Regions from separate parts of the Homo sapiens genome. Here regions 2, 3, 4, 5 and 6 are each linked to region 1. Evidence: promoter capture Hi-C in 16 types of primary human blood cells and fetal thymus (Javierre and others, 2016). All regions are on one chromosome and are shown on one strand. The core of a region is centred on a gene start or on the middle of the fragment in contact, and the rest is flanking DNA. Distances in the headings are between cores, read along the strand shown.

The links. The method cuts DNA at HindIII sites, captures the fragments that hold promoters and counts their contacts. A CHiCAGO score of 5 or more calls a contact.
Region 2: a fragment that was not itself captured here is called in contact with the fragment with the promoter of SDHAF1 in region 1 in 3 of 17 cell types (neutrophils, erythroblasts and activated CD4 T cells); the score reaches 7.0 in neutrophils.
Region 3: a contact is called between the fragment with the promoter of ETV2 here and the fragment with the promoter of SDHAF1 in region 1, in 8 of 17 cell types (neutrophils, erythroblasts, naive B cells and 5 more). The highest score is 7.2, in neutrophils.
Region 4: a fragment that was not itself captured here is called in contact with the fragment with the promoter of SDHAF1 in region 1 in 13 of 17 cell types (erythroblasts, fetal thymus, activated CD4 T cells and 10 more); the score reaches 11.0 in erythroblasts.
Region 5: a contact is called between the fragment with the promoter of KMT2B here and the fragment with the promoter of SDHAF1 in region 1, in 7 of 17 cell types (M2 macrophages, activated CD4 T cells, M1 macrophages and 4 more). The highest score is 7.2, in M2 macrophages.
Region 6: a contact is called between a fragment that was not itself captured here and the fragment with the promoter of SDHAF1 in region 1, in 2 of 17 cell types (neutrophils and fetal thymus). The highest score is 6.4, in neutrophils.

Annotation. Positions count from the first base shown.
Region 1 is chr19:35,993,001-35,997,953 of GRCh38, forward strand. It overlaps SDHAF1 (succinate dehydrogenase complex assembly factor 1), which reads left to right and starts at 2,188. Exons shown (of 1, transcript NM_001042631.3): 1 at 2,188-3,312. The coding sequence starts at 2,275. The coding sequence ends at 2,622. RefSeq lists enhancers at 1,151-1,650, 1,985-2,034, 2,295-2,374 and silencers at 2,435-2,494, 2,525-2,644. The HindIII fragment of the contact is 4,511 bases long and covers 1-3,333 here.
Region 2 is chr19:35,604,099-35,609,051 of GRCh38, forward strand. It overlaps HAUS5-DT (HAUS5 divergent transcript), which reads right to left. Exons shown (of 2, transcript NR_186318.1): 2 at 4,291-4,705. Among named protein-coding and RNA genes, the nearest start is that of HAUS5-DT, 6.1 kb to the right of the region's middle. The HindIII fragment of the contact is 3,634 bases long and covers 1,026-4,659 here.
Region 3 is chr19:35,638,635-35,643,587 of GRCh38, forward strand. ETV2 (ETS variant transcription factor 2) reads left to right here and starts at 3,111. Exons shown (of 7, transcript NM_014209.4): 1 at 3,111-3,522; 2 at 3,800-3,896; 3 at 3,981-4,064; 4 at 4,331-4,411; 5 at 4,640-4,953. The coding sequence starts at 3,827. RefSeq lists an enhancer at 3,267-3,982 and a silencer at 4,636-4,915. The HindIII fragment of the contact is 4,460 bases long and covers 1-4,350 here.
Region 4 is chr19:35,690,035-35,694,987 of GRCh38, forward strand. No RefSeq gene overlaps it. Among named protein-coding and RNA genes, the nearest start is that of ZBTB32, 12 kb to the right of the region's middle. The HindIII fragment of the contact is 301 bases long and covers 2,702-3,002 here.
Region 5 is chr19:35,715,228-35,720,180 of GRCh38, forward strand. It overlaps KMT2B (lysine methyltransferase 2B), which reads left to right and starts at 2,776. Exons shown (of 37, transcript NM_014727.3): 1 at 2,776-3,154; 2 at 4,242-4,314; 3 at 4,557-4,953. The coding sequence starts at 2,792. ZBTB32 (zinc finger and BTB domain containing 32) reads left to right here. Exons shown (of 7, transcript NM_014383.3): 3 at 1-280; 4 at 530-603; 5 at 712-780; 6 at 906-1,070; 7 at 1,251-1,811. The coding sequence ends at 1,525. RefSeq lists enhancers at 1,329-1,888, 1,441-1,720, 3,008-3,565 and silencers at 2,291-2,770, 2,851-2,900, 2,921-2,990, 3,031-3,110, 3,161-3,210. The HindIII fragment of the contact is 14,363 bases long and covers 1-4,953 here.
Region 6 is chr19:35,733,747-35,738,699 of GRCh38, forward strand. KMT2B (lysine methyltransferase 2B) reads left to right here. Exons shown (of 37, transcript NM_014727.3): 30 at 17-126; 31 at 2,944-3,081; 32 at 3,166-3,240; 33 at 3,340-3,517; 34 at 3,890-3,997; 35 at 4,113-4,196; 36 at 4,316-4,445; 37 at 4,536-4,953. The coding sequence ends at 4,811. Among named protein-coding and RNA genes, the nearest start is that of IGFLR1, 6.2 kb to the right of the region's middle. The HindIII fragment of the contact is 3,993 bases long and covers 1,569-4,953 here.

The sequences.
Region 1 (4,953 bases), core at 938-3,437:
GGATATTCTGATTTGTCTCTAAGTAGCCAGGCCTGGGCATGTAACAGAGCTGTAGCCAGAGCCAGAGGGCAGGGATATTACCCAGGAAATCCCCTAGAATAAGAGTGGGCCAGTTCCCCAAAGACAAACTGAGAGACTGTAACCAGAAAACCATTGACAGGCCCTGGGCAGGAGGCAATAGTATTCCCTTTGAGGTTTTGCAGCTCCTTGAGTCCACTGGAAAGTAAAGAAAGTCCCCCTAGGCTGATTGACATAGTTGTCTTGGAGATTAAGGGTCATTTGACAGGAAAAAGATAGATGTTTAAATTCCAGAGTACAAGCCAGCATGGTGGCTCATCCCTATTATCCCAGCTACTTGGGAGGATGAGGCCGGAGTTCAAGACCAATCTGGGCCACATAGCAAGACCCTGTCTCTAAAAACAAAACAAAAAATAAATATTTAAAATTCCAGAGTGAAGCCTGGGCAACACAGCGAGACTCTGTCTCTACAAAAAACAATAAAAGAAGAATTAGCCGGGTGTGGTGGGATGTTCACGTAATCCTAACCACTGGACATGTTGAGGCGAGAGGATTGCTTGATCCCAGGAGATCAAGGCTGTAGTTTCACCAATATGGTGAAACCCCGCCTCTACTAAAAATACAAAAATTAGCCCAGTGTGCTGGCACATACCTGTAATTCCAGCTACTGGGGAGGCTGAGGTAGGGAGAATCACTTGAACCTAGAGGCAGAAGTTTCACCATGTGGATCAGGCTGGTGTCGATCTCCCGACCTCAGGTGGTCCGCCCGCCTCGGCCTCCAAAAGTGCTGGAATTACAGGTGTGAGCCACCGTTCTAGGACATGTATTTTTGATAGATACATACACCTGCCAGGCAGGATTCACAGTGGTTTGTGATTCTCCCCTGACTCCAAGACTCCAAGCCTAATCCCCGCCCCTGACCAGCTTCTCCTCTCTGAAGGGGAATGGACCCCCCAGCTGGTTGCCGGCCCAAGTGTGCAGAGCCGCGGTTGCGCGCTGGGTGGAGGGGTCCCCCAAGCTCCGGTGCTGGTGGGGCCCGAGGATGCTGTGTCCTTGCGGGCCTCCCTAGCGCTACGAGGACACCTCCAGGCGGCCCGCGGGGACAACAACGGCATTGCGGCCTACCACCTAAAGCTCCTGGGAGGACAACGGGGTTGCAGTCTAGTCGACTGTTCAGGGTGTCCCGGACTCCGGGCTTTAACAGTCGGTAAGGACCCAAACACCGCTGTCCACTGCCCCGACTCCCACCCGCAGAGGGCGCGACCAACCCAGCTCCTAGAGCCACACGCTGCCTCTGGGGGCTTGGCGCCCACACTCTCTCTGCTTGTCTTCCCCTGGCCCGAGAAGCCTGTCCAACCGGCCGAGAGCCATTTCCCTACGGGGTCTCGTCCCTCTGCACGTGCCCAGGGCTGGGACCCCAGACACAGACCTGCCCCGGACGAGGGAACGCACGGAGCTTCCCAAGATGGTTTGAATCAGTAACTGACGGCAAAAGCACGCTTGTGCCCGGCGTCTCTCCCAGTGCCCCGTGCCCTTGGGACCCAAAGTCCGAACCGGTAGCCGGGCGCGGTGGCTCACGCCTGGAATCCCAACACTTTGGGAGGCTGAGAATCGTTTGAGCCCAGGAGTTCGAGCCATTCTGGGCAACATAGGGAGACCCATCTCTGCAAATAATAATAATAATAAATAAATAAATAAATAAATAAATAAATAAATAAATAGCGGGCGCGGTTGCGCGCGTCTGTGGTTCCAGCTACTAGGGGAGTTGAGGTGGGAGGATCGCTTGGGCCCAGGAGTTCGAGGCTGCAGTGAGCCAAGATCGCGCCACTGCACTCCAGCCTGGGCGACAGCGAGACCCCGTCACACACAAAAAAACCCCTAGCTTCCTCTTCTCCCAGAATGCAGGAGTTAGGTGAGGACCCTCTGTTCCCTCCAACCCAAGACCTAGGAGTCCGAACACATAACGCCCTCCAGGCGGTGCCAGGATCCCCAGAACTGCTGTCCCCTCAAGAACACACGTCCCCTACGTGGGAGGCCGCGACCAGCGACTCCGCCCACTTCTCCCAGCCGGCTGTTACGTAACTGCAACGACAGCCAGTCAGACGCGGCAGCGCCGGATGGCGGGAGGCGGGAGTTGGAGGCCAAGGGAAGCGCTGGGCGGAAGTGGCTGTGGCTTTGCCCTTTGGCCTTTGCTGGCTGTGTGGCGGCTCCGCGGTTCGCAGGTCGTTCGCTGAGCGTCTCTGCTTAGCCGCGGTCATGAGCCGGCACAGCCGGCTGCAGAGGCAGGTTCTGAGCCTGTACCGCGATCTGCTGCGCGCCGGGCGTGGGAAGCCGGGCGCCGAGGCGCGAGTGCGGGCAGAGTTCCGGCAGCATGCGGGCCTGCCGCGGTCCGACGTGCTGCGCATCGAGTACCTGTACCGCCGCGGGCGGCGCCAGCTGCAGCTGCTACGCTCGGGCCACGCCACCGCCATGGGCGCCTTCGTACGCCCGCGGGCCCCGACCGGGGAGCCTGGCGGCGTGGGTTGCCAGCCTGACGACGGCGACAGTCCAAGGAACCCCCACGACAGCACGGGGGCACCGGAGACCCGCCCCGACGGACGGTGACAGGCGAAGAGCCGAACTCGCTCGATGGCGTGGTGGAGCCAGGAGGCTCGCCTGACTGCATGGGGGGACTGGGGAACCCGCCTAAGGTGAGAGGTCTTAAGAGACTAGCTTGACGAATTGGGGATGTCAGAGACTCCTCCTTGGCGACGCAGGGGGCCTAGAGAGCCCCGTGATGGACGGCAAGGGAGGCCCGCCTTTTCCGATGCTTGGAGACAGGTCGGTGCTCCTCCCCCATGAGGGCTTGGGGCGGCCTGGGACGCTGGCGGGCTGGACAGTGTCAAGCCAAGAGCTACTTGCCCGAAGGTACGGGGAGCCAGGACGACCCCCGGTGGACAGGGAGAGCCTGAGACGCCCTTCTCTTGACCCCTGAGAACATACCCACTTCTGGCTCCTCAAGGAGTCTCCCCTCTCCTGTATTTAACTCTGAGAAGTGCAGACTTTTTGCTGAGAACGTTTTGGGAAGGTGCCCTGATGAGCGGTGAGAAGCCCGGAATCCCCTTCTGGAAAACTTTCCCCCATTAATTGTGACAAGCCAGGACCATGAGGAAGGGGTAGGGGTCTATCACCCTGGTTGATCAACTGAAGACCCCCAAAGGCCCCTACTTGATGGTTTTGAGGGGCAACATTGACTCATTTGCCCCTTCCCTCTCGGAATGTTGGACAAAGGGAATAAAATTGGGGATATGTCTACTTCCCTGTTGGTGGTCTTAAAGCTTTTATATATTTCAGGATTTTTGAAACACCCCCAGCCCCCCTGCCACCACACACACACGCACACAGACACCTGGAAGGGACCATCTGGGAGGTGATAGGTGTGGGGATCTGACTCCTTCCGGAGCCCTGTAGACTGGCACATTGATTGAAGCGGCATAGTTTTCTCCCCTGGGCAGATCTGTGGAGGGGGCTCATCCTGGCTTAACCCCCAAAGATACCCCAGTTGGCTCCCTAATGGAGGGCAAGTGATTTAACATCTTTGTGTGGAAGAGGAAATGGTGGAGCTGAGAACTGGCTCGGAGCCCCTGAGGCAGTAGTGAGGGTCTCAGACCTGGAAATTTCTCAAACCTGGCTGAAGGGTCCAGCCTCAGCTACAGTGAACGACAAGGCCCTGGGGCAGGAGAGGGGAGATGAACCCCATAGATCACAGATATACTCCCTCCGGTGTCCCCATATGGGCCTGCCCTAGACATTCTGTGGAGGGATGCATTTTGCATCGCTGAGCTATATTTGCACCCATATCAGTTAAATAAGTGGAAATGAGTTCTTGTGGATGTAGCTGTGGGTAGGAGGACCACAGGTAAGGAGCATAGACCTCAGACCAAAGGGAGGATGGACGGAAGAGAAACAGTCACTGCCCTAATCCCGGTGGGGGAGCCACATTCCCAAATGGTTATAAAGTGGAATTGCAGTTTGAAGAATTAATTGCCGGGATAGGCTTCTAGGCAAGAAGACCAAGGCTGGGCGCAGTGGCTCACTCCTGTAATCCCAGCACTTTTGGAGGCCAAGATGGGCGGATCACGAGGTCAGGAGTTCCAGACCAGCCTGGCCAATATGGTGAAACCCCGTCTCTACTAAAAATACAAAAATTAGCCAGGCGTGGTGGTGGGCACCTGTAATCCCAGCTACTCAGGAGGCTAAGGCAGGAGAATCGCTTGAACCCTGGAGGCAGAGGTTGCAATGAGCCAAGATCACGCCACTGCACTCCAGCCTGGGCGACAGAGCGAAACTACGTCTCAAAAAAAAAAAAAGACCAGTGTGGGGAAAGGCCTGGAGGGGGCAAAGGGAAGAAATGCAGGGTCTCAGGATCTCAGCTGGGGCCCGGAGTGCCCCAGGCACAAGGCTGTGGGTTTACTTGATTGTGGCTTCTACTTCTGCTTTGTCTCAGGTTTGTCCTCACCATGGGACTTCAGCCACCTCATTCATCTCTCTCAGCCTCAATTTCTTCCATCAGGGTGATCATGTTAGTCATCTCCTGGCTCCATCTCAAAAGCCAAAGACCAGTGGGGTCCTACTCATCCAGCCCCCCAATTACATCTTCAGCTGCATCTCCTGCCACCCCCTCACTCCTGGCTCCATGATCTTGAGCCCTGACAAGCCCCAGGATTGGAGCTCCTGGCAGGGCTGCAGGCAGGGATCGAGTTTTCAATGGGGTCTGGCATCCTGGGTCAGGAGAGAAGTCACATTAACCTGGGTGTTAACAGATGAATGAGATTTTCCCGGTAGAGAGGATGGAGGAATGCCTGATTTGAGGGAGGAGCTGTGCAGATGAATAGTGGCTAAGAGCACGGACCCGGGAATGGGAAGGCAGGGTTTGAATCCCAGCTCCCATACTTA
Region 2 (4,953 bases), core at 1,593-4,092, 390 kb before region 1:
CTCTCTCACTCAGGCTGGAGTACAGTGGCATGATCTCGGCTCACTGCAACCTCTGCCTCCCAGGTTCAAGTGATTCTCCTGCCTCCACCTCCTGAGTAGCTGGGATTACATGCGCCTGCCGCCACGCCTGGCTAATTTTTTTATTTTTAGTAGAGATGGGATTTCATCATGTTGGCCAGGCTGGTCTTAAAACTCCTGACCCCAGGTGATCCACCTGCCTTGGCCTCCCAAAGTGTAGGAATTACAGGCGTGAGCCACCGCGCCTGGCCGCCCGGCTAATTTTTATATTTTTAGTAGAGCTGGGGTTCTCCATGTTGGCCAGGCTGGTCTCAAACTCCTGAGATCAGGTGATCCACCTGCCTCAGCCTCCCAAAGTCCTGGGATTACAGGCATGAGCCACTGGGCCCGGCCCAGGTTCAGAAGCCTGACTAAAGTTTGGCCAAGCAAAGAATCCTTGTCAGGAGGCTGTAAATAAGAGACCTGTGAGAAATAAAAATTGTCAGGTGTCTGAGCCCAAGCCTGCATGTATACATCCAGATGGCCTGAGGCAACTGAAGAACCACAAAAACAAGTGAAAATGGCCAGCTCCTGCCTTAACTGATGACATTACCTTGTGACATTCCTTCTCCTGGACAATAAGTCTCCGGAGCTCCCCACCGAGCACCTTGTGACCCCCGCCCCTGCCTGCAAGAGAACAACCCCCTTTAACTGTAATTTTCCACTACCTACCCAAATCCTATAAAACTGCCTCACTCCTATCTCCCTTTGCTGACTCCTTTTTCGGACTCAGTCCGCCTGCACCCAGGTGATTAAAAAGCTTTTACTGCTCACACAAAGCCTGTTTGATGGTCTCTTCACACGGACGCACGTGACAAAAATAAAATCCTAAGTCCGCCAACTGGCTGAATGAACACTGTCTTGGCCAAGGGGCCTACAGAGAAACACTAAAAGCTGAGTTCCTAGCCGTGACTGAACGGGTGGTCGGGCACACCTCATTCTACCTCCTCCCTTGCTGACTGCCATGAAGCTTTCTTCCCTAAGGGTTAAACAGAAACCAGCCCTATTGAAAGACTCATTCACTGCTAATTTCAACCAATGGCCTGAAATACATGGCTGCTCCTCCCTTTTGTGGTTTCAACATAACAACTGACCAGCATTCCTTCCTGATCAGAGGCCACCTAACCACGGGGTGTGGCTCTGGCCAGTCTACAGAGGCTGCACACAAAGGGCCTTTGTGTCCTCTGCATCACCTTTTGATGTATAGGGCCTAATTGTAATACATTTAAGTGTTAAGTCTCCACTCCAAAGTGAACATGGGGCCTGGCACGGTGGCTCACGCCTGTAATCCCAGCACTTTGGGAGGCCAAGGTGGGCGGATCACCTGAGGTCAGGAGTTTGAGACCAGCCTGGCCAACATGGTGAAACCCTGTCTCTACTAAAAATAAAAAAATTAGCCAGGCATGGTGATGGGTGCCTGTAATCCCAGCTACTCATGAGGCTGAGGCAGGAGAATTGCTTGAACCCTGGGAAAGAGAGGTTGCAGTGAGCTGAGATCGCACCACTACACTACAGCCTGGGTGACAGAGTAAGACTCCATCTCAAAAAAAAAAAAAAAAAAAAAAAAAAGTGAATATGGGATGTTACTACACATGTGCTGTACCTTCCCTTCATGAATATTCATAGCTCCTCCTATAACCTGTTGAATATGTATACTGAGCCAAGCCATTCAGCGTTAACTCTGACCTTATCCTTCCCTTACTGGAGGTGCCTGCTCTCAGCTTCTACCGGAGGCTACACTTCTCGGCCTGTGAGATGGCCCGGCTGCAGGCTGCAACTCTTTATGAGAAATAAAGCTCTCCTTTCCAAATTTGTAAACCTGTATTAGTCTGTTCTCACGCTGCTGAAAAGAACTGCCCAAGACTGGGTAATTTATAAAGGAAAGAGGTTTAATTGACTCACAGTTCCGCAGGGTTGGGGAGGCCTCAGGGAACTTAAAATCATGGTGGAAAAGAAAGCAAAAACGTCCTTCCTCAGATGGCAGCAGGAAGGAGAAGTGCCAAGCAAAGAGGGAAAAGCCCCTTATAAAACCATCAGATCTCGTGAGAACTCACTATCTCAAGAACAGCAGCATGGGGGTAACCACCCCCATGATTCGATTACCTCCCACTAGGTCCCTCCCACAACACATGGGGATTTGGGGAACTACAATTCAAGATGAGATTTGGGTGGGGACAGCCAAACCATATCAAAACCTCATGATTCTTCAGTTGACATCTAATCTGAGCTACCATGGTCTATCAAAAAACCACAGCTCTTGAGGGGATCTCAATGGCTGTTAACAAACTGGTTAGAGTTCTGGTCAGGTTCTGATTGTAGAGAGCCTCTGTAACAGATATGGATTGCCTCCTTCCCCCCACCCTCCTTGTTATTTTTATTTCATTTTATTAAATTTTTTTTTGAGACAGGGTCACACTATGTCACCCAGACTGGAATGCAGTGGCACAATCTCAGCTCACTGCAACTTCTGGCTCCCAGGTTCAAGTGATTCTCATGCCTCAGCCTCCTGAGTAGCTAGGACTACAGGTGCATGCCACCATGCCCAGCAAATTTTTATATTTTTTGTAGAGACAGGGTTTTGCCATGCTGCCCAGACTGGTCTCAAACTCCTGAGCTCAACCAATCTGTCTGCCTTGGCCTCCCAAAGTGCTGGGATTATAGGCGTGAGCCACTGTTCCCAGCCATGATTTTTATTTAACAAATACTCATTATTTAACAAATACTTTCTGAGCACCTACTGTGTCCCAGGCATTGTCTTGGGAACGAGGAACACAACGGAGCAAGAGAAGTAAGGCCAACTTCTTCTCTGATGGAGCTTACATTCTAGTGGGAAAGAAAACTATAAACAAGTATACCCAAAAATAAACAAGATAATTACAGGGAATGGTAAATGCTATAGAGAAAAATAAAACAGAATAAGAAGCTAAAGTGGTGCCAGGACTGGTCCAGCAACTATTATGGTGTTGGGAGCAAGCCCCCCAAAATATGGCCATAAACTGACCCCAAGACTGGCCACAAACAAAATCTCCACAGCACTGTGACATGTTCATAATGGCCCTAACGCCCAAGCTGGAAGGTTGTGGGTTTACGGGAATGAGGGCAAGGAACACCTGGCCCGCCCAGAGTGGAAAACCACTTAAAGGCATTCTTAAGCCACAAACAATAGCATGAGCGATGTGTGTCTTAAGGACGTGTTCCTGCTGCAGTTAACTAGCCCAACCTATTCCTTTAATTCGGCCCATCCCTTCGTTTCCCATAAGGGATACTTTTAATTTAATATCTATAGAAACAATGCTAATGACTGGTTTGCTGTTACTAAATATGTGGGTAAATCTCTGTTCGGGGCTCTCAGCTCTGAAGGCTGTGAGACCCCTGATTTCCCACTTCACACCTCTATATTTCTGTGTGTGTGTGTTTAATTCCTCTAGCACCAGTGGGTTAGGGTCTCCCCAACCGAGCTGGTGTCTGCAATGGTGTGCCACCAGATAAGTACGGAAATTGCCAGCAAGTGTTTAGAAACACAGCAATTTGACATATCCATGACATCCAAGTATAGGATCAATGGATTTTCTTGTTGAACAGGGTAGAGACCAAAAGGATTGGTCCATGACAGGTTGGAAACATCAAACAAATGATCCTTCTCCATAGTTACAAGTAGTTTGAGATACACTGAGCTAGTGGGCAATGATGTCTACAAGGTATATTATTTAGAGTCATGCTAGCTGCTATAACAAATAAACCCCACCATTTCAGTAGCTCACAAAATAAAAGTTCTTTTTTTTTTTTTTTTTGAGACGGAGTTTCACTTTTGTTGCCCAGGCTGGAGTGCAATGGCACGATCTCAGCTCACAACAACCTCTGCCCCCTGGGTTCAAGCGATTCTCCTGCCCCAGCCTCCCAAGTAGCTGAGATTACAGGCATGCACCACCACACCCGGCTGATTTTTTTGTATTTTTAGTAGAGACGGGGTTTCTCCATGTTGGTCAGGCTAGTCTCAAACTCCTAACCTCAGGTGATCCACCTGCCTCAGCCTCCCAAAGTGCTGGGATTACAGGCATGAGCCATCACGCCCAGCCAGAAGCTCATTTCTTACTGTTCCTTTGAGCACATTCCAGCATCAGGGTCTTTCCACTTGCTGTTCCCACTTTGGGAACTCCATTTTCACAGTTTTCAAGTAGCTCTCACACTTTGGCTCTCACGTCTCAGCTCAAAGAACATCTTAGAAAGGCCTTCTGTGGCAGAGCCAGCAGGATGTTTATTGACTGCCTAGACCAGGACTACATTTCCCAGAGGCCCTTGCAGCTAGTTGAAGCCATAAGACAAGTTATGTTCAATGGACTGAGAGCAGAAGTGATGTATGTCACTTTAGGGTGAAGACTTTCAAGAAGCAGGTGCGAGTTCCTTATTCTCTCTTCTGCCTGGATTCAAAAGACTCTGAGCCCATAGAAGATGGTTGAATCACCTTATGGAAGAAGCCTGGATCCCTGAATTACTATGTGGATCAGGAGAAATGTCTGATGGGATGTTCTATGAGTAAGAAATGAGAAGACTCTTCTCAAACGTGGAAGGAGCTGCTGAAACCAAAATCACAAGTCCTAGAGAAGCTTCTTATTATCTCTCAGATGGTGGATGGGTTCCAAAAAGCATCCTGAAATTATCCAGAAAAACAGAAAAGAGATTTCAGATAAAGCAAAGGGAGAGAGATGCTGACAGAAGAAGACCAAGAGGCCACAGGGGCTCTGCTCCTTCAGGATCTAAGAAAGCAGGAAGGCACCAGTACCTCCCACCAAGGCCAACAGAACAGATACCATGAGAAAGGAACCAAGAAAAGGACAAATGGTGACATGTCTCCAAAACAAGGAGACATTGAGCATAAGAAGCAGAAAGTGAGGCCAG
Region 3 (4,953 bases), core at 1,861-4,360, 350 kb before region 1:
GGGTGCGGTGGCGCACGCCTGTAATCCCAGCACTTTGGGAGGCAGGCAGATCACTTGAGGTCACGAGTTCGAGACCAGCCTGGCCAACATAGTGAAACCCTGTGCCTACTGAAAAATACAAAAATTAGTTGGGCGTGGTGGCGGGCACATGTAGTCCCAGCTACTTGGGAGGGCTGAGGCAGGAGAATCGCTTGAACCTGGTAAAAGGAGGTTGCAGTGAGCTGAGATCGCGCCACTGCACTCCAGCCTTAGTGACAGAGTGAGATTCTGTCTCAAAAAAAAAAAAAAAAAAACGCCCTGCGACCACCACTGTGGCTGGAAGTCTAGAAGGCTGGGGCAGGGACTGGGCCAGAGGAGGGAGATGGCAGGTTTGAGTATGGGGAGGAGTGGAGGGTCTCCCAGGGACACAGCCATCGGAACCCTCCATTAGGAGGGAGCAGGTTGGGCAGGACTTTGTGGGGCATAAGTCGGGGGATGGACAATACCAAGGCCTCTCAGGGACCGAGGTCCCCCAGGAGAGGTGTCGAATTTCTCCTGTTCCTGTCTTCCCCGCCTTACTGCCCCCTCTCTGACGTCACATTTTCCAGTCTGGTCAGAGGGTGAGAGCCTCCCTGGCAGGAAGTGCCCTTTAGCCCCCTGCCACCTGGGCCAGACCACCCAGCCCCAGGATCCTCAAAGCCCCTTCCCCCCATCACTAGTCTTTTCTACCCCTGACCCCCCTTGTACTGACAGCAAGCATAGGGTCACGGGAGGAGATGGGAAGAGAGGATGGCTCCAGAAAGGACGCTTCCAAATGCATGTGATTCTCACTTCCAAGTGGGAGCAGAACAGCAGGTACACGTGGACATGCAGAGTGGGGTAACAGGCACTGCAGACTCCAAAAGGTGGGAGCGTGGGGGAAGCTGAACAGTTACCAGTTGGGTACGTTGCTCACCATTCGGGTGCACTAAAGGCCCAGGCCAGTATACTGGATATACTGACATATATCCAGTAAGGAATCTGCACTTGTACCCCCTAAATGTTTATCTTTTTTTTTAATGCACACAAGTCTTCCTGAGAACAAGAAGAGACACACACACATAGAATGTGGCAAGCAGAGGTAGAGATGGCGCTGTGAGCAGGAGGCTCAGAGGCAGAGATGAGAACCATCAGAGACTGTGCAGTGGGAAGGGGGACGGGGAGAAAACCAAGAGACAGATGGAGACGGACAAGGAGATGAGATAGGAACACTCAAAGACAGATGGGGAGGGACAGAGATGTCAGAAGAGACCAGGTGACAAAGCCTCACTGGAGTCAGGCCCGTGGCAACAGAGACCCAGCTTTAGATATGCCAACCTGAAGAAAGAGGGCAGAGAGACATGGAGAGACAGACAAGAGGCCAGCTTCAAGGATGGGAAGCCAGGACTCCCTTCAGGCCTCCGCGCTGGACGGATAGAGGGACCAGTGATGCTCCAGGGCTCTGTGGCTTACCCCACACTGATTCCAATCCCAGTCCCACTCCCACTCCATGGGACCCCCGGTTTACTTTACTGTAAAATGGAAGGAGGAGCAATGCCACCCGCTCTCCAGAACGGCAAGTAGTTAATGATCAAGAGGCTGGGCTGGGGACTGGAAGATGCCGATATGCAAAAGTTATTTTTAATGGTAAATATTACATACTTATTAAAATACAGCAGGATGGCTGGGCACGGTGGTGGCTCATGCTTCTAATTACAGCACTAAGGCTAAGGCAGGTGGATAGCTTGAGGCCAGGAGTTTGAGACCAGCCTGGCCAACATGGCAAAACCCCATCTCTACTAAAAATGCAAAAATTAGCCTAGGCATGGTGGCTCACGCCTGTAATCCCAGCACTTTGGGAGACCGAGGCAAGTGGATCACTTGAGGTCAGGAGTTCGAGACCAGCCTGGCCAACATGGCAAAACCCCATCTCTACTAAAAATGCAAAAAATTAGCCGGGCATGGTGGTGCTTGCCTGTAATCCCAGCTACTTGGAAGGCTGAGGCACCAGAATTGCTTGAACCCGGGAGGCAGAGGTTGCAGTGAGCTGAGATCGCACCACTGCACTCCAGCCTGGGCGACAGAGTGAGACTCCATCTCGAAAAATATTTTATATATATATAGGACACCCAGTTATTGAATTTTACGTGAACAATTTTATAGTTTAGGTATGTCCTAAATATTTCATGTATGTATGTATATGTTACATGTATAGCTGTGGTTTTTTGTTGTTTTTTGCTGAATTATTTGAGCAAGTTACAGACTTTTTTTTTGTTGTTTCTTTTTTTGAGATGAAGTTTCGCTCTTGTTCCCCAGGCTGGAGTGCAATGGCATGATCTTGGCTCACTGCAACCTCCATCTCCCTGGTTCAAGCAATTCTCCTGCCTCAGCCTCCCGAGTAGCTGGGATTACAAGCACCCGCCACCACGCCTGGCTAATTTTTTGTATTTTTAGTAGAGACAGGGTTTCACCATGTTGGACAGGCTGATCTAGAACTCCTGACCTCAGATGATCCACCCGCCTCAGCCTCCCAAAGTGCTGGGATTACAGGCGTGAATCACCGCGCCCAACCACAAGTTACAGACATTATAACATTTCATCTCTGAGTTCATTTTCTAAATGATATCTTTCCTCCTGAATACCATTATCAAATCTAAGAAAAGAATTCTATGATATTTCATATTCAGTTCATACTCCAGTTTCCCCAATTGTCCTAAACTATTACAGCGCGGAAGGGCATGGGGTCTGGAGAAGGAGAGCAGTGGGAGGATGCCTGCCTTACCTTCCCCCTTCATCAAATGAGAGTATGTATTGTACTTGCCTCATAGAAGGATTCAATGAAGGGGTATGGCACAGTTGGTTTCACACAATGAGCCCTCATTTAATGTTGGCCGTTATTGCTACTATTGTTATTGTTGAAATTGTTGATGTCAATATTGCTATGATTGGCACTCCTGGGAAGCAGCCCCAGGACGCCCTCCCTACTGGGCCTGGTGGAGGATTGGGTGGGCCTTCACTCCTGCTCCACGCCCCCGCAGTTACTCTGCCGATTGTGACGTCAGCTGACGCTGGGGGCGGGTGGGGGAATCTGGCCGGAAATCCCTCTTCCTGTTGCAGATAAGCCCAGCTTAGCCCAGCTGACCCCAGACCCTCTCCCCTCACTCCCCCCATGTCGCAGGATCGAGACCCTGAGGCAGACAGCCCGTTCACCAAGCCCCCCGCCCCGCCCCCATCACCCCGTAAACTTCTCCCAGCCTCCGCCCTGCCCTCACCCAGCCCGCTGTTCCCCAAGCCTCGCTCCAAGCCCACGCCACCCCTGCAGCAGGGCAGCCCCAGAGGCCAGCACCTATCCCCGAGGCTGGGGTCGAGGCTCGGCCCCGCCCCTGCCTCTGCAACTTGAGCCTGGCTGCGACCCCTGCTCTGACGTCTCGGAAAATTCCCCCTTGCCCAGGCCCTTGGGGGAGGGGGTGCATGGTATGAAATGGGGCTGAGACCCCCGGCTGGGGGCAGAGGAACCCGCCAGAGGTGAGCGATGAACTGAGGACTAGATGCCTGGGTGTCTGGGTTAGGAAGGACCTGGGGGACTAGACTCCCAAGAAGCCGGGGGCCTGGACTCCTGGGTCTAACAGAGGAAGAGAGCTGGGGTCCCTCACTCCCAGGACCAAGATTTTAGGCTCCTGGGGAAGGAGGGAGCGGAGGCCTGGACTCCTGGCTCTGAGGGAAGCTAGGGCTGGGGCCCAGACTCCAGGGCCTCCAAGTGTCACCAGCTCACCCATTGCCATCTGGACTTTTCCCGACCCAGAACATTCAGAAGGCCTTCATCGCATCCATGGACCTGTGGAACTGGGATGAGGCATCCCCACAGGAAGTGCCTCCAGGGAACAAGCTGGCAGGGCTTGGTAGGCTGCCGAGGCTGCCACAACGTGTGTGGGGAGGGTGTCCAGGTGGGGCCTCTGCTGACCCTAACCCCTTATCGCCTGCAGAAGGAGCCAAATTAGGCTTCTGTTTCCCTGATCTGGCACTCCAAGGGGACACGCCGACAGCGACAGCAGAGACATGCTGGAAAGGTGGCTGCGGGCTGGGACCCCTAAGTGCTGGAGAAGAAGCGGGGAGGCTGGGATCCTAGGGCAAAGGGAGGAGGGGGGCGTGCCTAGGTTCCTGGGACTGGGTGGGGAGGGGCCGCGTGCTTGACCCCTGAGGGTGAAGGAAAAGGGGGCGCGGGGTGCTGAAATACGGGCTGGGGGGCCATAACTCCCAGTCCCTGACAAGTAGAGACTAGAGAGTGGGTAGTTGAGGGGTCTCTTTCATTGCTCACAGTCCTCCCTAAACTCAGGTACAAGCTCATCCCTGGCAAGCTTCCCACAGCTGGACTGGGGCTCCGCGTTACTGCACCCAGAAGTTCCATGGGGGGCGGGTGAGTGTGGGGAGAGGCGGTGGGAGGTGGGGACTGGGGTCCCGAGGCACCGGGGCTAGAGGTGTAGACTCCCTGATCTTTGAGGACTGAGAACACCTGCGCCCTCAAGGTGGCATGACCTGGATCCGGGTCAGCCGGGCCCCAAGTGCCAGGGTTGAGAGCTTAGACCCTAGAGTTTTTGAGGGGGCACCTGGGCTCCCCTCACTCGGGATCCGTTACTCCTCACAGAGCCCGACTCTCAGGCTCTTCCGTGGTCCGGGGACTGGACAGACATGGCGTGCACAGCCTGGGACTCTTGGAGCGGCGCCTCGCAGACCCTGGGCCCCGCCCCTCTCGGCCCGGGCCCCATCCCCGCCGCCGGCTCCGAAGGCGCCGCGGGCCAGAACTGCGTCCCCGTGGCGGGAGAGGCCACCTCGTGGTCGCGCGCCCAGGCCGCCGGGAGCAACACCAGCTGGGACTGTTCTGTGGGGCCCGACGGCGATACCTACTGGGGCAGTGGCCTGGGCGGGGAGCCGCGCACGGACTGTACCATTTCGTGGGGC
Region 4 (4,953 bases), core at 1,602-4,101, 300 kb before region 1:
TGATTCCTTCCCTGATAAAAATATAAATATGTGCATGTTTGCATTTTTTTTAAAAGAAAGTCTTCCAAAGGTTATTGAGGAAGAGGACACATTTGCAGGGGATCTTTACTTCATTCCTTGGACATTTTGGTATTTTGCAAATATTTTATGATGACTATTGCCTTTGTCCTCTAACAAAAAATCAAGAAATATATCTTAGTTAAAATGTCCCTGCTGGACATAAAATGTACATTGAGAAGAGAATTATCCTACTAAATATTTTCAAACTTTATCTGAGCAGTTAAGGTGTCCGGAATTGGTGGGTTATTGGTCTCACTGACTTCAAGAATGAAGCCGCGGACCCTCGCGGTGAGTGTTACAGCTCTTAAGGTGGCGTGTTTGGAGTTTGTTCCTTCCGATGTTCGGATGTGTCCGGAGTTTCTTCCTTCTGGTGGGTTCCTGGTCTCGCCGGCTCAGGCAGGAGTGAAGCTGCAGACCTTCGCGGTGAGTGTTACTGCTCATGAAGGCAGTATGCACCCAAAGAGTGAGCAGCAGCAGGATTTATAGCAAAGAGCAAAAGAACAAAGCTACCACAGCACGGAAGGGAACCCCAGCGGGTTGCCGCGGCTGACTCGGGCAACCTTCTTTTATTCTCTTATCTGGCCCCACCCACATCCTGCTGATTGGTCCATTTTACAGAGAGCCGAGTGGTCTGTTTTGACAGGGTGCTGATTGGTGCGTTTACAATCCCTGAGCTAGACACAAAGGTTCTCCATGTCCCCACTAGATTAGCTAGATACAGAGTGTCCACACAAAGGTTCTCCAAGTCCCCACCAGAGTAGCTGGATACAGAGTGTCGATTGGTGCATTCACAAACCCTGAGCTAGACACAGGATGCTGATTGGTGTGTTTACAAACCTTGAGCTAGATACAGAGTGCCGATTGGTGTATTTACAATCCCTGAGCTAGACATAAAGGTTCTCCACCTCCCCACCAGACTCAGGAGCCCAGCTGGCTTCACCCAGTGGATCCCGCACTGGGGCTGCAGGTGGAGCTGCCTGCCAGTCCCACGCCGTGCGCCCGCACTCCTCAGCCCTTGGGTGGTCGATGGGACTAGGTGCCGTGGAGCAGGGGCGGCGCTCGTCGGGGAGGCTCAGGCCGCACAGGAGCCCACGGGGTACGGGGAGAGGGGAGGCTCAGGCATGGCGGTCTGCAGGTCCCAAGCCCTGCCCCGCGGGAAGGCAGCTAAGGCCCGGCGAGAAATTGAGCACAGCAGCTGCTGGCCCAGGTGCTAAGCCCCTCACTGCCCGGGGCCGGCGGGGCCGGCCGGCCGCTCTGAGCGCGGGGTCCACCGGGCCCACGCCCACCCGGAACTCGGCGCTGGCCCGCAAGCACCGCGCGCAGCCCCGGTTCCCGCCTGCGCCTCTCCCTCCACACCTCCCCGCAAGCTGAGGGAGCCGGCTCCGGCCTTGGCCAGCCCAGAAAGGGGCTTCCACAGTGCAGCAGCGGGCTGAAGGTTCCTCAAGTGCTGCCAAAGTGGGAGCCCAGGCAAAGGAGGCGCCGAGAGCGAGCGAGGGCTGTGAGGACTGCCAGCACGCTGTCACCTCTCAGTAAGACAGGTCAGGGCTGGGCACAGTGGCTCACGCCTGTAATCCCAGCATTTTGGGAGCTGAGGCAGGAGGATTGCTTGAGGCCAGGATTTCCAGACCAGCCTGGCCAACATAGTGAGACCTCATCTCTCCAAAAAATTTAAAAATTAGCTGGCCATAGTGGTGCGCACTTGTAGTAACCGCTAGTCGGGAGGCTGAGGTGGGAAGATCGCTTGAACCCAGGAGGTAGGGGCTGTAGTGAGCTGTGATGGTGCCACTGCATTCCAGCCTGGGCAATAGCAAGACCCCGTCTCAATAATAATAATAATAGGCCAGGACTTGCTAGATGGGAGGCCGGGGTTTGACCTGACCTCTGACCTCTGGGCAGTCAGGTAGGTAGGCCGCCATCTCTGACCCACATCTGCCACTTGGCTTTCGGGCTCCATCCTACCATATACCTGCAGAGTGTGGCTCAGTCAGACCGGCAGCAGCGTGGCCTCACCCAGGCGGGCCTGCCTGCAGGACAGGTTTGTCCGCCCCAGCCCCCAAACTCAGAGGCCGGCTCCTGTGGGTAAGAGGGGAGCAAAGAGGTCAGGGCTATGTCAGGGCCCGGACCCCTTGAGGGACAGGCAGCCATTTGATGGCTGTTCCCCCCACACCCCAGGTGACTGCATCCCTCCTCAGCCTCTAACCCTCCACGGCTCTCCAGCGCCCTCCTCACCTCGCACTGAGGGCCCGTGTGGCTTGGCCCCTTGCCACCTCTCCAGGTATCTCTTTCTCTCTCTTGCTCCACTGAGCCAAGCTCTCTCTCTCACCATCTGAGATCACAGAATGGAAATAAGAAACTGTGTTATATAGCAATCAAGCCAGGCACATGCCTCTGACTACATCCACTTTTGCTTACACTCCTTCCATGAGGGCAAGTTGGTTCTTTTTTTTTTTTTTTAACTAAAACGTAAAAACACACACCCCTGCCCTTTCCTCAGGTGTCCCACGCCCACCAATTCCTCCTCTCTGGTCCCCGCGTCCTTGGCTGGTGTTAGAAAAATGGCTACAAGCTTCCTGGGAATCAGATAATAAAGCTTACAGGAACTCTTCCCAGATTTAAAAGAGCTTAATAAATAAATAAATAAAGCTTACCTTCTAGAGGGGAAAATAGATAAAACCAATAAGAAAAACACATGTTAGAGGCTAATAAGTGCTAAGGAGAAAAATAAAAGAATGAAAGACAAAACAAAAACCTAGCCGGGCGGGGGGGCGCGGTGGCTTACGCCTGTAATCCCAGCACTTTAGGAGGCCAAGGCGGGAGGAACGCTTGAGGAGTTCGAGACCAGCCTAGGCTACATAGTGAGACCCTGTCTCTACAAAACAATAAAAAAATTTTTAAAAATCGCTGGCCATGGTGGCAAGCACCTGCATCACAGCTGCTCAGGAAGCTTAGGCAGGAGGATCACTTGAGTATGGCAGTCGTCGCTGAAGTGAGCCAAGATGGCACCACTGACTCTGTCAGCCCAGATAACAGTCTCAAAAAAAAAAAAAAAAAAAAGATGACTGGGCATGGTGGTTCACACTTGTAATCCCAGCACTTTGGGAGGCTGAGGCAGGCAGATCACCTGAGGTCAGGAGTTCGAGACCAGCCTGGCTAACATGGCGAAACCCTGTTTCTACTAAAAATACAAAAATTAGCTAGATGTGGTGGCATGTGCCTGTAATCCAAGCTACTCAGGAGGCTGAGATAGAAGAATCACTTGAACCTGGGAGGTGGATGTTGTAGTGAGCCAAGATCGTGCCACTGCACTCCAGCCTGGGTGGCAGAGCAAGACTCCATCTCAAAAAACAAAAACAAAACAAAACAAAGCAAAAAACGGTGAGAGGGCCTGGTGCCCCCTCTGGAATGTTTTTCATTGTCTAGGTTTGACACTGTGCTGTGCCATCACGTGTGGGGCTGGGGAAAGTGCAGATTCCGGGGCACACGCCTGCCCTTGGAGCAGGGATGGAGTCAGCTCCATCTATAGGGTCTGGTCTGGGAGGAGGGAGAGGGTGCTTGCCCAGAGCAGGCTCAGACCCTAAGCCTGAGCCTAGGGAAGGGTGAGCCGACCCTGGAGGCAAATGGACCACAATCCCCCCTCCCCATCAACCTTCACCAGCGATTCCGGGATAAATGACACAGACAGCACTGAGAATTCCATGGTAGTCGTTATTATTACTGTTGTTTTTATTAATAGCAGGGGCCCCATCACTTACCTGTGGGTTATCAATTTATTACCTCTCAGTTCCATTTGTCATCTGGTGCCAGGTTAGGCTTTGTCAATAGAGGGCGCTGGAGAGCCACTGAGGAGCCAGGGCCCCTCTGCCTCACTCCAGGGCTTTGTGTTCTTCCTACTGCGCTGTGACCAGCAGGTGGCTGCTATGCTCCACATTATAGGGAGTGACCTCCACTGCCACCCTCTCCTCCTTCTCCCTCCTCCTCCTCCCTCCTCCTCCCTCCTCCTTCTCCCTCCTCCTCTTCCTTCCTCCTCCTCCTCCCTCTTCCTCTTCCTCCCTCCTCTTTTCTTTCATCCCTCTTCCTTTCTCCTCCTTCTTCCTTCTCCTTCCTTCACCCTCCTCCTCTTCCCTCCTCCTTTTTTCTCTTTCTCCTCCTCTTTCCTCCTCCGCCTTCTTCCTCCTCCTCCTCCTTCTTCCTACCCCTTCTCCTCCCCCTTCCCCTTTCTTTTAAAAGACGGGGTCTCAGCCAGGCACAGTGACTCACACCTGTAATCCCACCTGTAATCCCTCACTTTGGGAGGCCAAGACAGGAGGATCACTTGAGCCCAGGAGTTCGAGGCTGCAGTGAGCTATGGTAGCACCACTGGACTCCAGCCTGGGCAATAGGGGGAGACTTTGTCTGAGAGAGAGAGAGAGAGAAAATGAGAATCGCACCGTGTCGCCCAGGCTGGAGTACAGTGGCAGGACCATAGCTCTCCAGTGCCTTCTTGAGTCTAGCTAGGGACTTGTCACTTAACCCAACAGATCTATTTAAAACATGAAGTAGAATCATTGTTTCTCACAGAATCAGCTGCCTTCTCAGATCCTCTACAAATGGAAACAGAATCATGCAAAACAGGGAAGGTAAAGGGACAAGAAAATGGTCTTTTTGAAGAGCTGCTCCCAGCCCTGCTGGACAAAATGACCAAAATAGGATCCCTGGTATTAAAGTTCCTCTCATAAAAATCCATTCAGAAAATTGAGGACACTTTGGGAGGCTGAGATGTGAGGATTGTTTGAGGCCAGGAGCCTGGGCAACAGAACAAGGCCCTGTCTCAAAAAAAAAAAAAAGAAAAGATACATATATATATATCTGTACCCAGAGTCAAGACAAGCAATATTTGTTGTCTAAAAACAACTC
Region 5 (4,953 bases), core at 1,526-4,025, 280 kb before region 1:
GCCAAAGGGGAGCAGATGGGAAGCATGGAGTGCTCACGTGGTTGAGGGAAAATCCAGGGGGCTCTGAGGAAAGTCTGCGCAAGCTCCCTGGCCCCCTTCCCCCAGCAGGCTCCCTGCAAACCAGCGTCACCCCTAGGCCCTCGTGGGCTGAGGCCCCTTGGTTGGTGGGGGGCCAGCCTGCCCTGTGGAGCATCCTGCTGATGCCGCCCAGATATGGCATTCCCTTCTACCATAGCACCCCCACCACTGGAGCCTGGCAGGAGGTCTGGCGGGAACAGAGGTGAGTGGCGGGGTCTAGTGCTCTGCCTCCAGGCTGGGAGGGCATGGCCCAGGAGGGGCAGCCCTGCTGGGTGGAAGGGCACTGCATCTCTACTGCACAGTTCCTGAGCTGGGGAAGAGACAAGAAGCTGCTGCCACAGGGCACGCCAAAGCCCAGCCCCCGGGGGAGGACTTGGGATACCCCCTCTTCACGAAGGGGCCAGGCTCCCAGGTTTAGCCAAGGCTGTAACTCTTCCCCACCCCATCCCAGGATCCCACTGTCCCTAAATGCCCCCAAAGGGCTCTGGAGCCAGAACCAGTTGGCCTCCTCCAGCCCTACCCCAGGTAAGCCCCTCGCTGTCCTGCATACACCTGTAACATGGTGTCTTCTCTGGGCTGGGGCTCGAGGAGTCCAGCCTGAGCAGGGCCCCTACCTCCCACTGTTCCTTCCAGGTTCCCTCCCCCAGGGCCCCGCACAGCTCAGCCCTGGGGAGATGGAAGAGTCTGATCAGGGGCACACAGGTGAGTCGGGCGGGGGCACTCGTGCCTCAGCCCCACTGTAGCCCTTGATTTCCTGCCTGAATGGTACAGTGAGTTGGCGCTGGGATTCCTGGCCCTGCCCTCCTTTGCCTTCTCTGTCCCCACAGGCGCACTTGCAACCTGTGCGGGTCATGAGGACAAGGCAGGCTGCCCACCTCGCCCGCACCCTCCCCCGGCCCCTCCTGCTCGGTCTCGGCCCTATGCGTGCTCTGTCTGTGGAAAGAGGTTTTCACTCAAGCATCAGATGGAGACGCACTACCGAGTCCACACAGGTATGGGCGCCCTGCCCTGTGTGAACTGTCGGCTTTCTTCCCAACTCCGCTCCTGAGTCTCCACCTGTGTGCCCGGTTCCCGCGCAATCCCCTAGCCCCGTGGCCCGATCCACCCCTAACTTGGCCAGCTTTCGCCGCCTTCTTCCTTCCTTCACCGGCCTCCCCTTCCGACCGCTCTAGGAGAGAAGCCCTTCTCCTGTAGCCTTTGTCCTCAGCGCTCCCGGGACTTCTCGGCCATGACCAAGCACCTGCGGACACACGGGGCCGCTCCGTACCGCTGCTCCCTGTGCGGGGCCGGCTGTCCCAGCCTGGCCTCCATGCAGGCGCACATGCGCGGTCACTCGCCCAGCCAACTCCCGCCCGGATGGACCATCCGCTCCACCTTCCTCTACTCCTCCTCGAGGCCGTCTCGGCCCTCGACCTCTCCCTGTTGTCCTTCTTCCTCCACCACCTGACGGGGTGTCGGTAGCGTCTTAGCCAAGAGTCCAATTAAAGAACGAAAAGCGGGCCGGCTCGGCTTCTGACCTGGCACCGCTGCTACGGCGGCCTAGCAAATTCCGCCCCAGAAGCGCCCCAGGAAGGGCGCCGAGTGCCCTCTCCTGGACGATCGCGGGTCGCAGAAGCCCAGGCCAGCGAGCCCTACAGAGTGAGGACACTGAAGTGTGCAGGAGCGAAGGTTAACAGTAGGGGAGATTGTCGATCTCATCACCATAATAAAGAGTTTCCTGTGCCCTCCCTTCAGGACTAGAAAGCCGAGTTTAGTCTGTGCACACCCCCGCCCACGCCCCTTGTCCTGTAGCGGCCCCTGGTGGCCCTGCGTCCGCTGTCCAGCGGGATGGACACTTCTTCCACCCCCGAGGCGCCCCGTCCTCCCCAGGAGGCAGCCGGCCCCGAGGACTCGGTGTCCGGGCACACCTTGCGGCATGCCGGTCCTGGACTGGTGGGGGCTGTGCGACCGCAAGTCACTCGCCCCTTCCACTGCAATCCACGGCGCGCGGAGTCTGATCTGGGAACGCTCGGCCCGGGAGAGAGAGGAACGCGTGCTCCGACCCTGCTTTCGGCCACCCGCCTCCTCTCCGGGAGCACACGGACCCCGAGACCGCGGCCTCTCCGGCGTCTTCCCTCCACACCGTGCCAAGCCGCCGCCAGGTCGCGCCTGGAACGGAGACTGACTATGCTTTCCACCGCTCCTTCTCCAGCCCACGCCTCCTGCAGCCGCGAACTGCATTTCCCAGGGCCTCGGGGGTCCCGGGGCCCGAGCCCGCGGCACCCTGGGAGTGGTAGTCCACGCGGGCCGCCGGCCTAGCCAAGAACAATGGGAGGAGCCTGGGGCTAGGACCACACCTCCCGGAGACCCGGCAACCCGCTTTCCGGGTCCTGGCCGGGAACCCCGCCGTCCCGGCCCTCGCGCCCTGGCTGCCGGCGGAAGAAGCGAGGCGTCCGGACTACATTTCCCGGAGGCCCCCGCGGTTCGCCCCTCTGCGGCCGCGACGCGGGGGTCTGTGCTCCCCAGGTGCGGTCCGAGGGCGCCGGCCGGCCGCGGACTCCCTCTCCCGTGGTGCCCTGCGCGTGGCCGGCCCGGCCCCCGGTCTCCCGCGGCGGCGCTGGTTGTTGTCGTGCGCCGCGGCCGCCCCGCCCCGCCCCCGCTCTCTCCCCTCCCCCCGGCCCTGCGCACGGGCCGCCCCTCCCCCCGCCTCCCCGGCCCCTCTCACGGTGCCAAGATGGCGGCGGCGGCGGGCGGCGGCAGTTGCCCCGGGCCTGGCTCCGCGCGGGGCCGCTTCCCGGGCCGGCCGCGGGGCGCCGGCGGGGGCGGGGGCCGCGGCGGACGGGGCAACGGGGCCGAAAGAGTGCGGGTAGCTCTGCGGCGCGGCGGTGGCGCGACGGGGCCGGGCGGAGCCGAGCCCGGGGAGGACACGGCCCTGCTCCGTTTGCTGGGGCTCCGCCGGGGCCTGCGCCGGCTCCGCCGCCTGTGGGCCGGCCCGCGGGTCCAGCGGGGCCGGGGACGGGGTCGGGGCCGGGGCTGGGGCCCGAGTCGAGGCTGCGTGCCGGAGGAGGAGAGCAGTGACGGGGAATCCGACGAGGAGGTGAGGCGGTTGGAGGCGTCCCCGGCGCCGGGTGGGGCGGAGGCCGGGGCTTCCAGGGGTCTGGGTTGTCCCGGGGGCGGCGTGGGCAGGCCGGGTCCTCAGGGTTCCTTCGGAGAGACGGGGCACGGAGGGAGGGCGGCTGCATGCAGCTTCCGGGGGAAAGGGCCTCTGGAAGTGGGTAGAGAAGCCCCGGCTGCAGCCAGGCACTCGCGCCCGATGTCGGTCCCGCTGAAGTGTCTTGGGCCGATCCTTTTCGGCAGCTGGCAAAGCTAGGGCGGTGGAGGTTTGGGCGAGGAGGCAGTGGGGACTGCATGTCCAGCCAGTCGTGGTTGACAGCGGCAGCGTGGCCTTGGCAGACAGGTTGGAGCTGTCTGGGCTCTTACCTGTGGGCCGCCCCGCCGGGCCTCGCAACCTCCTGGTTTCTCCAGGGCCCCAGTTTCTCTTGGCATCTCAGGTAGAGTGGTGGAGGGCTTCCTCTTGGGGCTCGGGTTGAACAGGAGTGGGATGAAGGCCGGGACTGGGCACTCTAGCAGGTCAGAGCTCAGCTCAGGATTTCTCCCCCAGCCTTTCAGAACAGGCAGGAAGGTGTGGGTTGCGTTGCCCTGGACGGTTAATAACAACCTGAGAGCTCGCAGTGGAGCCTGTACGAAAGCCATCTGATGCCCTCCCCGCCCCTTCACTTGCGGGCCCCTGTTCCCAACTTAATGCAGAAATAAATTGTGGCCCGAAAGGGTGTCAGTGGAGGTCCCACTTTGGTCTGAATTGGACTCTGAAGGAATCTGAGTATGGGGCCTGCTGCCTTTCCTGAGGAGACCCTGTCGTCTTCTCTCTTGGGCCAGTGAACCATGGCTTTGGCTGTGCTGGTGTGGTCCGGCACTGGGGATCGGAGTTCGAAATACCTGGCGCCTCCATCCCTAGGGAGAGACCCTCTCTTCCACTACCCGCGACCTTTGAGTCTTTTTCGTTCTTTTTAAATAGGCAGGGGTATGCTAAGTGGGAACTGGGGATATTCCTCGATACCTCAGATGGAACGAGGGCTTTGGCACTGACTGCTGTTTCTCCCCTCCACCCCGGTCCCCTAAATCAGGAGTTTCAGGGTTTTCATTCAGATGAAGATGTGGCCCCCAGTTCCCTGCGCTCTGCGCTCCGATCCCAGCGAGGTGAGTGACGGGGGAACTCCACCTCTTTAGCGTCACAGGAATTTATCCTCGCCCTTCGTGTCAGCTCTTCCCTGTTCAACTAGCCTCTGTCAGTTGCCGAATGTGTTCTGTGTTCAGAGTCCAAGCTAGTCTGGGCAGCGGGGGAAACACACAAGCAAGACTTAGTCCCTGCCCTCCTGGAGCGCCTTCCTCTGTGTGTAGGGCTGGCTTGATCCATCTCCCCACAACTATTCTCCTTTTAGGTCGAGCGCCCCGAGGTCGGGGTCGCAAGCATAAGACGACCCCCCTTCCTCCTCCTCGCCTAGCAGATGTGGCTCCTACCCCCCCAAAGACCCCTGCCCGGAAACGGGGTGAGGAAGGCACAGAACGGATGGTGCAGGCACTGACTGAACTTCTCCGGCGGGCCCAGGCACCCCAAGCACCCCGGAGCCGGGCATGTGAGCCCTCCACCCCCCGGCGGTCTCGGGGACGGCCCCCAGGACGGCCAGCAGGCCCCTGCAGGAGGAAGCAGCAAGCAGTAGTGGTGGCAGAAGCAGCTGTGACAATCCCCAAACCTGAGCCCCCACCTCCTGTGGTTCCAGTGAAACATCAGACTGGCAGCTGGAAATGCAAGGAGGGGCCCGGTCCAGGACCTGGGAC
Region 6 (4,953 bases), core at 2,315-4,814, 260 kb before region 1:
AGGTCTCTTCTCGCAGGCCCCTCCAGGAACGGTCCCCTTTGCTGCCACTTCCGGAAGATGGTCCTCCCCAGGTCCCCGATGGTCCCCCAGACCTGCTGCTTGAGTCCCAGTGGCACCACTATTCAGGTAGGGACCGGCCTTGCCCTCTCCCTCCTTGCCTGTGCCTGGCTCAGCTGGGTGACTCACAGATGCAAAATCAGCCCTCTTTCAAAACCAGTATCTACTCCCAGGGGCCAAGCCTGAGGCTCGGTGCTAGAGTTAGAGATGACCTTGGGGAGCCTCTGGCCTTGTGGGAGAAACAGACATGGAAATGACATTTCGCCTCTACGTGGGATCCTTTTAAGGGTCTTTGTCCAGCATGCCCAAGAGCCTAGGGGAGGGCCTCAGAGCCTAGCCTGCCAGGAGCTGAGAGAGAGCTTCCTAGAGTAGCCAAAGGTGAAGTTCTAGGATCATCTAGAGGGAATGCAGCCCAGCTAGCACCGAGATGAGGGTCAGGGACAGTGGGAAGATCAGAAGAGTGGTGTCCCAGAGGCCCAGGGAAGGGAGTCGTCACATCTCAGCTGCCACAGAGACTGCCAGGCCTGTGGAGTCTAGCGTTGGTGTCCAGTGAGAGCAGGTGGCACAGGGTGGGGCGTTGTGTCCAAGTCCAGAATTGAGACCATGGTTGAAGAAGGCAAAACAGCCCAAGCACTTGGCCAGAGTTCAGCTAAGGATCGGGAGCGGGAGGTGGGCGAGCAGCGTGGAGGTGCTTGGTGTGAGGGCCAAGACAGCGGAGCCATGGATGGCAGGGAAGGGCAGGCTGGGATGGAAAAGGCAGTGGGAAGAGGCCTGGTGGCTGGTTTTGAACTGGTGACCTCTGAGGTAAAGGAGAGGAGGGAAAGCAGGTGTTTATGCAGAAACTGTAATACATGGGGTGGAGGCCCCTGGAGGAGGCTTGGCTGATGGACTCCTTGAAGCTGGCGGTGGAGTGGTGGAGTTTTCTGTTGGTCCCTGAGGGCAGTGGCTGGGGGAGTGGCTGCGGCCAGGTAAGCTGGTGGTCGAGCAGCCTGAGGCTGGGATTTTGTGGTGGCCCAATCCTGTCCAGATGTTTGGATTTTCTCATGACACACAGCTCAGTTGCTGAGCTGGGAAGCAGAGTGACGTGGATTGAGAGTGCTTAACTCAGAGGCTGCTTATGTCTCAGAGATGACATGAGAATATGGCAGTGGCCTTAGGAGGTCCCTGTCCTCAGGGATCAGACCACATTTTGGTGCGGGACACAGACATGTTAGCAAGGGCAGGTTAGAGTGGGCACTGAGAAACCGAGCAGTGAGAGCACCTGCCAGGGTCCTGTGGTCAGTCCTGCTGTGTTTGGGAAACTGGAAGTGAGGGTTGGGGGACACAGGGAAGAAGTTGACAGAGGTGGACTCTGGGGCACTGAGGCCTGGAGAAGACGGGAGTCACACGGCAGGAGTGTTGCTTTAGAGTCTCCCTTGGGGCAGGGGAGGTGGGGCAGGGTGGCCTGGAGAGGTGACATCGGGAGAGTGTGGCCATGTGGGTTTTGCCTCTCCTAAAGCCTGTTCCACTCAAGCTTTTGTGCCCCCAACCCCCAGTGGTCAGTCCCCAGCCCACACCTGCTTGAGCAGCAGCAGCGTTTGGTGCAGCGGATCCCTCCCGCCTTGAAGCATTGTCTTCCCGGCTTCCAAGGCTGCTCCTGCTCTCACCTCTGGTCCTGCCTCCTTGCTCACAGCTGTCAGGCTAGATGTGTCCCGGGACCCTGGCCTTGACTTCTGTGTATGCTCACTCCCAGGGGCTCCCTTCCAGCTTGGTGGCTGTCCTCCCGTCTGTGTTCTGATTGTCTCCACATTGCTCTCTCCAGCCTAGACCCTGTCCCTGAACTGTGGCCTCCTCCATCCTGTCCTGCTGCCTGCCCACCATCTCCACCAGCAGGTTGCAGGGGGAGGTTTCTAAGAGGCCTCTCAAAGTCAGCCTGTCCCAAACTGAGCCCTCCACCTGCACGCCAAACCCATTCTTCTTTTGCCTTCGCTGTCTCAGTCCACAGCAGTTTTATCCTTCCAGGTGTTCAAGCCCAGCGTTGTCCCGACCCCCATCCCCCTTCTTCACATCCACATCTACTACGTCAGCATATCCCGTCTGCCCTGTTTAATCTATTAACCCTCGAGAAATCCCCTAAATAGCTCATAACATACAGTGTACTTGGCTCTGTGCATGTGAGCCTATATAATAATATATTTGTAGCTGGGCACAGTGGCTCACGCCTGTAATCCCAGCACTTTGGGAGGCCGAGGCGGGCGGATCACCTGAGGTCAGCCTGGCCAACATGGTGAAACACCATCTGTACTGAAAATACAAAAATTAGCCGGGCGTGGTGGTGGGCGCCTGTAATCTCAGCTACTCGGGAGACTGAGGCAGGAGAATTGCCTGAATCTGAGAGGCACAGGTTGCAGTGAGCCGAGATCACACCATTGCATTCCAGCCTGGGAGACAGAACGAGACTTTGTCTCAAAAAATGATAATTTTATGTTTGTAACAGTTACAGAAATTTGCTGCATCTAAAAAAAATAGATGTGCAAAATACAATTCTCCAGTATTTTAAATTTTGTGTGAGAAACAGAATAATGACAGGTAGATGGGATGTATGGTACACTGGGTTTGAGTGAGCCATAGGCGTGTCCTGAAGAGCCAAAAGGCCCCAAGCCTCTGTGGAATGCTTTTGTACCCAAGAAGTCCTGCAGAAGAGGAGCCGCAGGCTCCTTAGGGGAAGAAATGTCCATTCTGCAGGGCTCACTGGGTAACTGGAGCAGAAGGAGGGCCATTAGACCCTAGTATCTGTGTCTGCGCCTAGGGGTGGAGAGAGTGGTGTCTGCTGGGAGCACAGCGGGGCTCAGGGGCTTTTGAGTCCGGGAAGGGTGATCTTCACTCCAACCTGCTTCTTGGGACCAGGTGAGGCTTCGAGCTCTGAGGAAGAGCCTCCATCCCCAGATGATAAAGAGAACCAGGCCCCAAAACGGACTGGCCCACATCTGCGCTTCGAGATCAGCAGTGAGGATGGGTTCAGCGTTGAGGCAGAGAGCTTGGAGGGTGAGTGGGGGGAGTGCAGTGGCAGGAGGGAGAGTGTCCATAAAACACCATCCTGACTCAGCTCTGGCTCTGCTGTCTCCCCAGGGGCGTGGAGAACTCTGATCGAGAAAGTGCAAGAGGCCCGAGGGCATGCCCGACTCAGACATCTCTCCTTTAGTGGTAAGGAGTGGGCCCCACAGGGGGCAGGGAGCTGGATGTCTCCCCGAGGGCACCATGGGCCCTCCACATGACAGGTGTGTCCTCAACATCTCCCCTCAGGAATGAGTGGGGCGAGACTCCTGGGCATCCACCATGATGCTGTCATCTTCCTGGCCGAGCAGCTCCCCGGAGCCCAGCGTTGCCAGCACTATAAGTTCCGTTACCACCAGCAGGGAGAGGGCCAGGAGGAGCCGCCCCTGAATCCCCATGGGGCTGCTCGGGCAGAGGTCTATCTCCGGTGAGAGGTCTGGGGTGTGATGCCTGGGTCAGGGCGCCCCTATGAGAGCTCTTGAGGGTGGGAGTTAACTGTAGAGGTTGGAAACTGAGGCCTGGGGAGGAGACACTAGGTCACTTGAAGAGTTATTTCTAGAGTTAGCCAGGCTCCGTGGCTCATGCCTGTAATCCCGCCACTTTGGGAGGCCGAGGCAGGAGGATCGCATGAGCCCAGGAGTTGGAGACCAGCGTAGGCAACATGGCAAAACCCCATCTCTAAAATAAAAATTTAAAAAAGTTATTTCTAGAGCTGACATCAGAAAAATGAACCCCACCCATTTCCCTGTTAGCTCTGTCTTCAACAGTATATTCCTCCTTCCCCTGCTGCCACCTGCAGGAAGTGCACCTTTGACATGTTCAACTTCCTGGCCTCCCAGCACCGGGTGCTCCCTGAGGGGGCCACCTGTGATGAGGAAGAGGATGAGGTGCAGCTCAGGTCAACCAGGTATGGAGTGTGAGCTGGGGGGCGGGTGGTGGTCTGGAAGGGTCTTAGAGAGTGAGCAGGGGTGAGAGAGGTCATTCTGAGCACCAGCCTGGGTGACACTGCTGTCCCTCACCAGACGTGCCACCAGCCTGGAGCTGCCCATGGCCATGCGTTTTCGTCACCTTAAGAAGACGTCCAAAGAAGCTGTGGGTGTCTACAGGTGAGTGGGGTTGGGGGGGAGGATGCCCCTTGGGTGGACGGACAGGTGCACTGGGTAGGGGGTACTGTCTGGTTTCTGTCCCCCTCCCCCCTGAGTTCCCTGTTCATCCTGCCCTGCAGATCAGCCATCCACGGGCGAGGCCTGTTCTGTAAGCGCAACATCGACGCGGGGGAGATGGTCATCGAGTACTCTGGCATTGTCATCCGCTCGGTGTTGACTGACAAGCGGGAGAAGTTCTACGATGGGAAGGTGGGCTCCCAGTGGCTGTGGGAAGACAGTGGGTGAAGCGAGCCTGTCCGCGGGGACAGAGCACCTGATCTCCCCACCTCATCCCTGCAGGGCATCGGGTGCTATATGTTCCGCATGGATGACTTTGATGTAGTGGACGCCACGATGCATGGCAATGCCGCCCGCTTCATCAACCACTCCTGTGAGCCCAACTGCTTCTCTCGGGTCATCCACGTGGAGGGCCAGAAACACATTGTTATCTTCGCCCTGCGCCGCATCCTGCGTGGTGAGGAGCTCACCTACGACTACAAGTTCCCCATCGAGGATGCCAGCAACAAGCTGCCCTGCAACTGTGGCGCCAAGCGCTGCCGTCGGTTCCTTAACTGAGGCCGTGGCTGCCCACCACGACCCCTCACACCTCCTGCTGCCGTCGCTGCCATCTTGCCCCTAGCCTGGGGGCTCCCTAGCCCCTCCCAGAGCATCTCACCCCCACCCTCATGTTCAGGGTGGATGTGGGCATGCAGGTGAC